2 separate regions of the Homo sapiens genome follow, and region 1 is linked to region 2. The links are contacts of gene promoters, found by promoter capture Hi-C in human tissues and cell types (Jung and others, 2019). All regions are on one chromosome and are shown on one strand. The core of a region is centred on a gene start or on the middle of the fragment in contact, and the rest is flanking DNA. Distances in the headings are between cores, read along the strand shown.

Region 1 (4,815 bases), core at 1,758-4,257, 710 kb before region 2:
TCCTGTGTCAGCAGTCCCCAGGGCTGCCCCCAGTTTTTGTAATTCACTTGAGGCTCTCACAGGACATATTTATTCCTTGCTGTGGTTTGTTACAGTGAGGGGGGATGCAAAGCAGGATTAATAAAAGGTAGTTGTGCATTCAGCAGATTCTACAGGACACCAGCATTGTTAAGATTTGAAGAGTCTTCTCCCAGCAGAGTTACCCAGGATGTGCTTACTTCCCCAGCCTTAAACTCTACAACATGTGTGAAGTGTTTTTTATTGTGAAAGCTCATGTATGCCTCAGAATCCAGGGTTTTTATTGGAGACTGGTCACATAGTATATTAGTTCATTCTCACATAGCTATAAAGAAATACCCGAGACTGAGTAATTTATAAAGAAAGGAGATTTAATTAGCTCACAGTTCTACAGGCTGTACAGGAAGCATTGCAGCTTCTGCTTCTAGGGAGGCCTCAGGAAGCTTCCAATCATAGTGGAAAGCAAAGGGGGAGCAAAGTGTCTCCCCTGGTGGGAGCAGGTGCAAGAGAGAAGGTGCTACACATGTTTAAACAACCGGATCTCACAAGCACAGAACCACAGGGGATGGTGCGAAACCATTCATGAGTAACTGCCCCATGATCAGATCACCTTTCACAGGCCCCACTTCCAACATTGGGGATTACAATTCAGCATGACATTTGGGTGGGGACACAGTTCCAAACCATATCACATAGGCATATAGTCCCTTTGTGGTTATCACTTTTAGAGCAACTCCAGAAGGAAATCAGGTGTTTACCATAAATCATACAGTTTGCACAAAATATCTAGACAAGCTGGACAGTGTGGTTCAGTACCGTAACCATACAAAAACACCCTTATCATTTAGGGCATAGGGCTAGTACAAGACCTTAGTTTCTAGGAGCTGACCAAGGGCCAGTCTAACCCAGCTGACCAAGCAGGCCTGTCTGAGAATGTGCATCATTTGAGCAACTCAGGCCTGCTGGGTTAACTGCTTACACCATTTTCCTTCCCCTCCTCTCCCTTGCCTTCGCCACTCTTAACCTGGAAAAAGCACTAATTTGTCCTCCATATCTGTAGTTTTGTCATTTGGAAAGGTTGTAGAAATCCTAGAGTATGTGACCTTTTAAGATGCACTTTTTAAAAAACTCAACATTTTGCTCTTGAGCATCCAGGTCTTTACATGTGTTAATAGTTTGTTCTTTTTGGTGTTAGGTATTCTCTCGTGTGATCATGCCCCAGTTTATTTAACCATCCCATAGATGATGTTTATTTTCCCTTGTAAAGTTGGATAGCGTGTATAATTTTTTTTTTTTTTTTTTGAGATAGTGTCTTGCTCTGTTGCCCAGGCTGGAGTGCAGTGGCACCACCTAAGCTCACCACAACCTCTGCCTTCTGGTTTCAAGTGATTCTCCTGCCTCAGCCTCCTGAGTAATTGGGACTACAGGCGCATACCACCATGCCCGGCTAATTTTTGTATTTTTAATAGAGACGGAGTTTCACTGTGTTGGCCAGGCTGGTCTCAAACTCCTGACCTTGTGATCTGCCCACCTTGGCCTCCCAAAGTTCTGGGATTAGAGGCGTGAGTCACCGTGCCCATCCAGCATGTATAATTTTAACGTAATGGCTAATCACTCATGAGGGGAAGAAATGGCTAATCACTCATGAGGGGAAGAGATTTTTGAACATTTTTAAATAATAGAGACAGGGTCTTGCTATGTTGCCCAGGCTGGTCTTGAACGCTTGGTTTCAAGCCATCCTCCCACCTTCGCCTCCCAAAGTGCTGGGATTATAGGCGTGAACCATTGCACCTGGCCCCGGGGAAGGGATTTTTGTATTTATTAAGCAGTTAAGTATCATTGCTTTTTAGCCATGTTATTCTATAGTCTTTACAATAACCTTATTCATTCAGTTATTGTTCTTGCAACAAAGATTTGAGAACCTATGATATGCCCATTTGTGCAGGGAAAAAACTCCTCAAACTGTATTTTTCCTCTGCTCATGCCACAGCAGTCATCAACACAGAAGACTTCCATGACCATATGTGTGGGGATTCTTCCCCTACACAACACACCAGCTGGGTGTCTTCTAGTTCACTTTCTGCACTGGGTGTCTTTTAGTTCAGTTCCTGCACTATTTACCAGGAGATAGGGTCAGATCGCACAGGGTGAGGACTCAGTCACCATGACTGCCCCTCCTAACCCCCATCAGTTGCAACTCCGGGCCTTTAGGACTTCTAACTGACCAGCTTCAAGTTGGGGTTCCCATGGCTGCCTTTTTAGGTTCAATAATTTGCTGAGGTGGTTTACAGAACTGAGGGAGATGCTTATGTTTACCGGTTTATTACAACAGATATTGCAAAGGATCCAGGTGAAGGAGATGCTGGGGGCGAGGAATGGGGGAAGGTGCAGAACTTCCATGCCCTCCCTGGGCGTACACCCTCCAGGAACCTCCACTGTGCAGCTATCTGAAAGCTTCCCGGGCCCAGTTCTCTTGGGTTTTTATGGAGGCTTCCTGACATCAGCATTCGTCCCTCAGAGTATAGAGCTGGACCCTCGCTGGGGAGGGTTTAAGACCAATCCAGAGTAGAGTCCTGCCTTGGGGCAGGTAAAAGGAGGGCAGGAGAAAGTCAGAGAGGCTGCCCATGAGGCCTAACACACTCAGCCTTAAAACAAAAGCCTGGGGGTGGGCGTGGTGTCTCATGCCTGTAATCCCAGCACTTTGGGAGTCTGAGGTGGTCGCCTCCCGAGTAGCTGGGACTACAGGCGCCCACCACCACGCCCGGCTAATTTTTTTGTATTTTTAGTAGAGATGGGGTTTCACCATGTTTGCCAGGATGGTGTTGATCTCCTGACCTCATGATCTGCCCGCCTCGGTCTCCCAAAGTGCTGAGATTACAGGCGCGAGCCACTGCGCCCGGCTGAAAAGACTCTTTTTTCGCCATTGAATGGTCTTGGTACTTTTGTGGAAAATCAGTTGACAGAAGAATTGTGGGTTTATTTCTAGAATCTCAATTTATTCCGTTGATTTCTATGACTGTCCTTGTGCCAGTACCACACTGTAGTAATTACCATGGCTTTGTAGTAAGTTTTGAAATCAGGAAATGTCAATTTTCTTACATTCTTTTTCAAGATTGTTTTGGCCATTCTGGGTCCTTGTTCTCTTCTGCATTTTAGAGTTCATGTGCTTTCATTGGGCCCATCTAGATATCTAGCATAGTCTCCTTATTTTAATGATTAGTCAACTTAATTATATCTGCAAAGTCCTTTTTGCAGTGTAAGGTGACATAATCACAGGTGTAGCACCAGAGAGTGAAGGTCATGGGTGCACAGGTCCTATGAGGCTTAGTTGGGTGAAAAGGTGGAGAATGATAGGAGCAGAGAGGTTGGAGAGGGAGATAGGAAAGGGAGTTTCAGAAATATTACATAGTTTGCCTAAAGTTACATTTCCAGTACGTGGCAGAGCTGGGGTTGGAGTGCAGATAGGACTGATCTCTGTGATTTCATGGTCCACACCAAATCAGTCTTCTTAGACTCAGAGCTATTGTTTCTGTCTAATACATAGTGAGCTTTTATTGTATGCCAAGTAATCCACAGAGCACTCCTTTATGTTTTTCTAGCTCTTAAAGAGCATCTGTACAAGTCTTTTGGCATAGATAATAGGCTCTACTGGAACCAGCTTAAGAAAAAACGACAAAAGTAGTTAGGGGACCAGGGTGTATGACTCAGAATCTGAGGATGGGCGTGCATGTAAACCTTAGCCAGGGATTGGAACTGGGAGATTGAAATCACTCAGGACGTATAGGACCTTCTACTTTTCTCTGCTTCTTGGGATATGTCTATTTTACTCTGTAGACTGTCCTGATTCTCAGACCACTGGATGGAAGATGATCATGTCACACAGCTCCATCATTCAAGAGAACAGCCGTGACTTAGTCCCATTTCCAAAACTCCAAGCAAAAGACTCTAACACATTTGGAGGCAATCAGCTGTGACCCTGAATTGGGGGACTGTTCACCTCATACAAATATAGCTGCTGCCAGCTTATATTTGTGGATTGAGAGGACAGTTTCCTGATACACAGGAGGTATTTGCACGTGCTAGGCAGACTCCCCAAACTTATGTTCATTTTAGTAACATTGAGTAGTACTATCATACTTAACAGTACAAAATTTAAAAAACATAATTGATCTATGCGAAAAAATAAGTATTTCCTTTTGCCCATTTCTCTTGAAAGGGAAGAAAAGGGACACGGGATGATAATGGCAAGATTATTTATTTATTTATTTATTTATTTTTGAGACGGAGTTTCACTCTGTTGCCCAGGCTGGAGTGCCCTGGTGTGGGATCTTGGCTTACTGCAGTCTCTGCCTTGCGGGTCCAAGTGATTCTCATGCCTGAGCCTCCCGAGTAGCTGGGATTACAGGCAAGCGCCACCACACCTAGCTACCCACTGTGTTACCTCTAGTCCTTGACTGTAGTTGTGTCTTGGTCAGTATCCGTGTCTCCTGTTCTGTACTTCTCTCTAATCCAACCTAGAAATTGCCTCTCAAGTGTTTTGTTTTGTTTTGTTTTTTGTTTTTTTGAGATGGTGTCTCGCTCTGTTGCCCAGGCTGGAATGCAGTGGCGTGATCTTGGCTCATTGCAACCTTTATCTCCCTGGTTCAAGTGATTCTCGTGTCTCAGCCTCCTGAGTAGCTGGGATTACAGGCATCTGCCACCACGCCTGGCTAATTTTTGTATGTTTAATAGAAACGGGGTTTGCCATGTTGGCCAGGCTGGTCTCGAACTCCTAACCTCAGGTGATCCATCTGCCTC
Region 2 (4,639 bases), core at 1,770-4,269:
AAATATTTCTTTAGAAATATAAAATCTGGAACTTTCCATCATTATGCCTCCCCAAAATAATAGAGGACTTTACACACAGATAACACCTGCCTCTCAAGATTCTCTCATTAATCTCTACCTTACCGTGTTTGGATTAAGACACAGGGCTTGCGAAATGAGAATAAAGTGAGTTTGAGCAATCCAAAACCACGTGCTGACTCTGGATCCTGGAAGATGATTTTCTTCAGAATCTTTGTCTGTTAACTTTCCTCTGGGCTCAAACTTTCTTTTCCTAAAAGAGTCACATATTTGAGTACTACTGCTACATGGCAATCACCACTCAAAAAAAACTAACTTGAGGTGTCCAATAATCAGCTTTCATTTAAAGTCTGTTTCAGGCTAGGCGCGGTGGCTCACGTCTGTAATCCCAGCACTTTGGGAGGCCGAGGAGGGCGGATCACGAGGTCAGGAGATCGAGACCATCCTGGCTAACATGGTGAAACCCCGTCTCTACCAAAAATACAAAAAATTAGCAGGGCGTTGTGGCGGGCGCCTGTAGTCCCAGCTACTCAGGAGGCTGAGGCAGGAGAATGGAGTGAACCCGGGAGGTGGAGGTTGCAGTGAGTCGAGATCGCACCACTGCACTCCAGCCTGTGTGACAGAGCAAGACTCCGTCTCAGAAAAAAAAAGAAAAGTGTCTTTCAGCTTGACAAAATAAAAACTTTCAATGATGTTTTGTCTACACACTTCCAAAAGAAAATGAGTCTATATATGTACATATATGTGATTATATATGTATATATACATATGTGATTTTGATCAGCCTGCATATAAACTACCTGCAAAACAAGTTGATTTGTAAATTCATTTATTAAATGGGTAGTTTATAAGCTACTTGATTTTTGCAAGTAGTTTATAAACAGGCTGATCAAATTGAACAAATTTCTTAATTTCACTGTATACATGGCAAATAAGTTATCTACTCTTCTTATTAGCAAATCTTATTTTTACCTACCCTCCTTTGGCAAGCATCTAAGTTAAACTATTTTATGTCCACAGCTACACAATGAAACATCACTTTCAGTCACAACATATTAAATTCACATTTAAAACTATAAAGAGATCCAGTTACCTTTAGTCTTACATGTACTTATACATACTTTTAATATACTACTTGATGTTTTATGCACAAACATGCAGCTCTTGCAGGATATAACTATGAGAATATTTAGAGTGTATGCTAAATACACTTTTTTAAAGACAAGTCAATTTTTAAAAATTATTTATTTATATTTTATTTATTTATTTGAGATGGAGTCTCATTCTGTTGCCCAGGCTGGGGTGCAATGGTGTGGTCTTGGCTCACTGCAACCTCTGCCTCCCAGGTTCAAGCAATTCTCCTGCCTCAGCCTCCCGAGTAGCTGGGACTATAGGCACATGCCACCACACCCAGCTAATTTTTGTATTTTTGGTAGAGACGGGGTTTCACCATGTTGGCCAGGCTGGTCTTGAACTCCTGACCTCATGATCCACCCGCCTCGGCCTCCCAAAGTGCTGGGATTACAGGCGTGAGCCACTGTGCCCGGCCAAGAAAAGTCAATTTTAAGCACTTAAGCAGGCCAGGCGCGGTGGCTCATGCTTGATTCCCAGCACTTTGGAAGGCAGAGGTGGGTGGATTACCTGAGGTCAGGAGTTCGAGACCAGCCTGACCAATATGCTGGTCTCGAATATGCTAATAGGCAACAACGTTTAAAAGTCATTCCAATGCCTAAAACACCACCATATACATAACATACTTGTCCTTTACTCCAATGAAGCTTAAACTAGACCCAAACTCAGACCATTTCCTTCTCCTGGCACACTGAAACATACGAGAGGGAATCCAAGAAATCAGATATGTTAAGTGCGGGTATCTTCTTCCACAGTAGGGTCAAATTCGTGTTTGCCAGCAAATGTCACCGTCCCAGTTAAGTCTGCAAATTCTCACTAGCGCTGGAGTACAAAGAGGCCTGACCACGGAAACACCTGTCCTAGCACCAGGAAGACAGTGGGAAAGGCAACCCCCCTGTCTCCGCGCCGGCCCCAAAGCCTCGGCTGCAGCGATCGGGGGGACAAGAGGTTGCCGCTGGTCTCAAGGGTGCGGTGGACAAGGTCCCACACCCCCGGCCCGCCTCCCGAGAACCAGGAAACCTGTCAAGCCAGCCTGGACCCACCCTCCGCAGCCCCCTCGCGCTCCTGCACAGCCGGGCCCCAGCCCGCCCGACCGCTCCGCGTCCGCCCCGGCCTCCCGGCTGCACTCTGCCACCTCATCCCTCCCCGGCTGCCTCGCGGCCCCGCCACCTCCGCCCCGCGGCCTGGGCTCAGGCCGCCCCCCGGGCAGGAGCGCCCCGCCGCCGCCCCCCGCCTGGCCCCGACCCGACCCCGTCAGTTCCCCAGCGGCCCGGTCCCCGCCGCCCCCAGGCCTGAGCTCCCGCCGCGCGCTCCCCACCCCGAGACTCCACCCTCGCCCCGCTCGGCCGCTCCTGGCCCACTCCCCCAAGCCGGCTACCTGGAGGCAAGGGCGGCGGAGCACTTCACCCAGGGCCCCAGGTCGCAGAGGGCCCGGTGCTCGGGGTCCCGCTCCTTCTCCCGCTCCACGTGGTAGGCGTAGATGGAGAGCAGGATTCCGGCAGCGCACACTGCATACCGGGCCACCCGCTCCCACCGCGGCACCGACACTCTTAGCAGGACGGGAGCCGCCATCTTCCCGCCGCCGCCGCCGCCGCCTCCCTCCGCCTCCACCTCAGCCGCCGCCGCCCGTCGGGGCCCGACCCAGCCGCCACCGCCGCCACCGCCGCCTCCGCCGCCGCCGCCACCACCGCCGCCGCCGCCGCCGCGCCCCATTGGCTCGGTGGCCTGCTCCGGGCCCCGCCCCCACAGGCGCGCGGCCCAACCGCCCCAAAAGGAGTGAGGCGGACGGGGCGGGGAAGGCGCGCGCGGGCGCGGAGGGAGGGGGTGGAGTGCGCAACGGCCGAAGAGGCCGGATCGGCGGGCGGAGACTGAGGCGGCGTGGCGCTGCGCCGCGCGGCCGGTCGCGCGCGAGGGGTGGAGCCCGGGGGAGAAAGGGGTGGGGCAGGGGTGGGGATGGGCGGGGCAGGGGTGGGGAGGGGCGGAGCCAGAGAGGGGCGGGGCCGAGCGGGCCAGTGCGGGAGGGACTTAAAGGAGCGGTCTAACTAGCACATTGCAAGGATGCCACTGTGGGTGACTGGGCGAACCCTCGGCCCCTCCCTCTGGGGATGGCAATCAATTGCCATCCTTTTTCCCTTTTTCGTTGTATATTTCTGACCCAATCCAAATCAACCCTGGCCAATGCTTGGAGCTCCAGAGACCCACACCTATGACCTGATCTTCCCACCACCACCTTCGGTTAGACCTGTGCAAAACTTTTTTTTTAATGTGCAAAACTATGTTTTAAATTTAAAAACTATTTTTAAAAAATGATTTATGGACCGGGTACAGTGGCTTACACCCGTAATCCCAACACTTTGGGAGGCCGAGGCAGGTGGATCACTTGAGGTCAGGAGTTCGAGACCAGCCTGGCCTACATGGCGTAACCGCGTCTCTACTAAAAATACAAAAAACAAACAAAAACAAATTAGCCCGGTGTCGTGGTGGGCGCCTGTAATCCCAGCTACTCGGGAGACTGAGGCATGAGAATTGCCGGAACCCGGGAGGTGGAGGTTGCAGTGAGCCAAGATCGTGCCACTGCACTCCAGCCTGGGCGATAGAGTAAGAGTCTCAAAAAAAAAAAGAGAGATTTACGAATGCCTTGCTTTTCCGTAAGCTGAATTTGAAGTTGCTTACCATAACTCATATAATATAGAAAAATAAAGATGAGCTAATACAATCAGGACGAAGAAAAAGAAAAGTCAGAATAAAATGAAAGGCCAGGAATAAGAACACAGATAAGCAGGCCATAGGGGCTTACATAGTTATTAAAATTGCATCATAAATTTGGCTCTGAGCTTCCTGGTGGCCAAAACTAAAAGGAAAACAGATGTATGTGCTTTTTCTCACTGTCTTTAAGAAGAAACACAGGGTTCTTGGAGATTTTCAGTGTTTCCCTGGTTGCAGCTTTCAATTTTTCAGGGGCTTTATATAGTGATTTTGAATAATAAGCAATATCCTTGTATTCGTTATCTATTGTTGGGTAAAAATCACCCCAAATTTAGCAGTTAATAAACAATAAACTTTTTTTTCCCTCACAGTTTCCACGGGCTAGGAATCTGGGTGAGGTTAGCTGTGTCCTCTGGCTCAGGCTCTCATGAGGATACAATCAAGCTGTCAGCCAGGGCTGCAGCTCTCTCAAGGCTTCAGAATCCTCTTTCAAACTCACTTCCACTGCTGCTGGCAGGCCTGAGGTCCTCTCTGGCTGTTGGCTGGAGACATCATTTCCTGTCCACTTGCACCTCTTGGTAAGAAGCGGCAGGCTTACCCCAGGGAGAGGGAGGAGAAAGAGGAAGAGACAGAAAAAGAAAATGAGAGTGAGATCACAGTCCTTTTTTGAAACCTAATCCCAGAAGTGACATCCCATCACTTTTACGAAGTCTATTGCTACTTAGAAAATAGTCTCTAGGTCCAGCCAGTCATGGTGGCTCACACCTGTAATCCCAGAATTTTG

What was found. The method cuts DNA at HindIII sites, captures the fragments that hold promoters and counts their contacts. A contact is called where the count stands out against the background at its distance.
Region 1: a fragment that was not itself captured here is called in contact with the fragment with the promoter of VKORC1L1 in region 2 in 1 of the 25 tissues and cell types used here (heart left ventricle).

What each region holds. Positions count from the first base shown.
Region 1 is chr7:66,579,080-66,583,894 of GRCh38, reverse strand. It overlaps the pseudogene RABGEF1P1. Among named protein-coding and RNA genes, the nearest start is that of KCTD7, 47 kb to the left of the region's middle. The HindIII fragment of the contact is 3,079 bases long and covers 1,468-4,546 here.
Region 2 is chr7:65,871,454-65,876,092 of GRCh38, reverse strand. It overlaps VKORC1L1 (vitamin K epoxide reductase complex subunit 1L1), which reads right to left and starts at 3,019. Exons shown (of 3, transcript NM_173517.6): 1 at 2,528-3,019. The coding sequence starts at 2,721. RefSeq lists enhancers at 1,518-2,069, 2,621-3,172 and silencers at 2,238-2,307, 2,855-3,034, 2,748-3,247, 3,268-3,327. The HindIII fragment of the contact is 24,487 bases long and covers 1-4,639 here.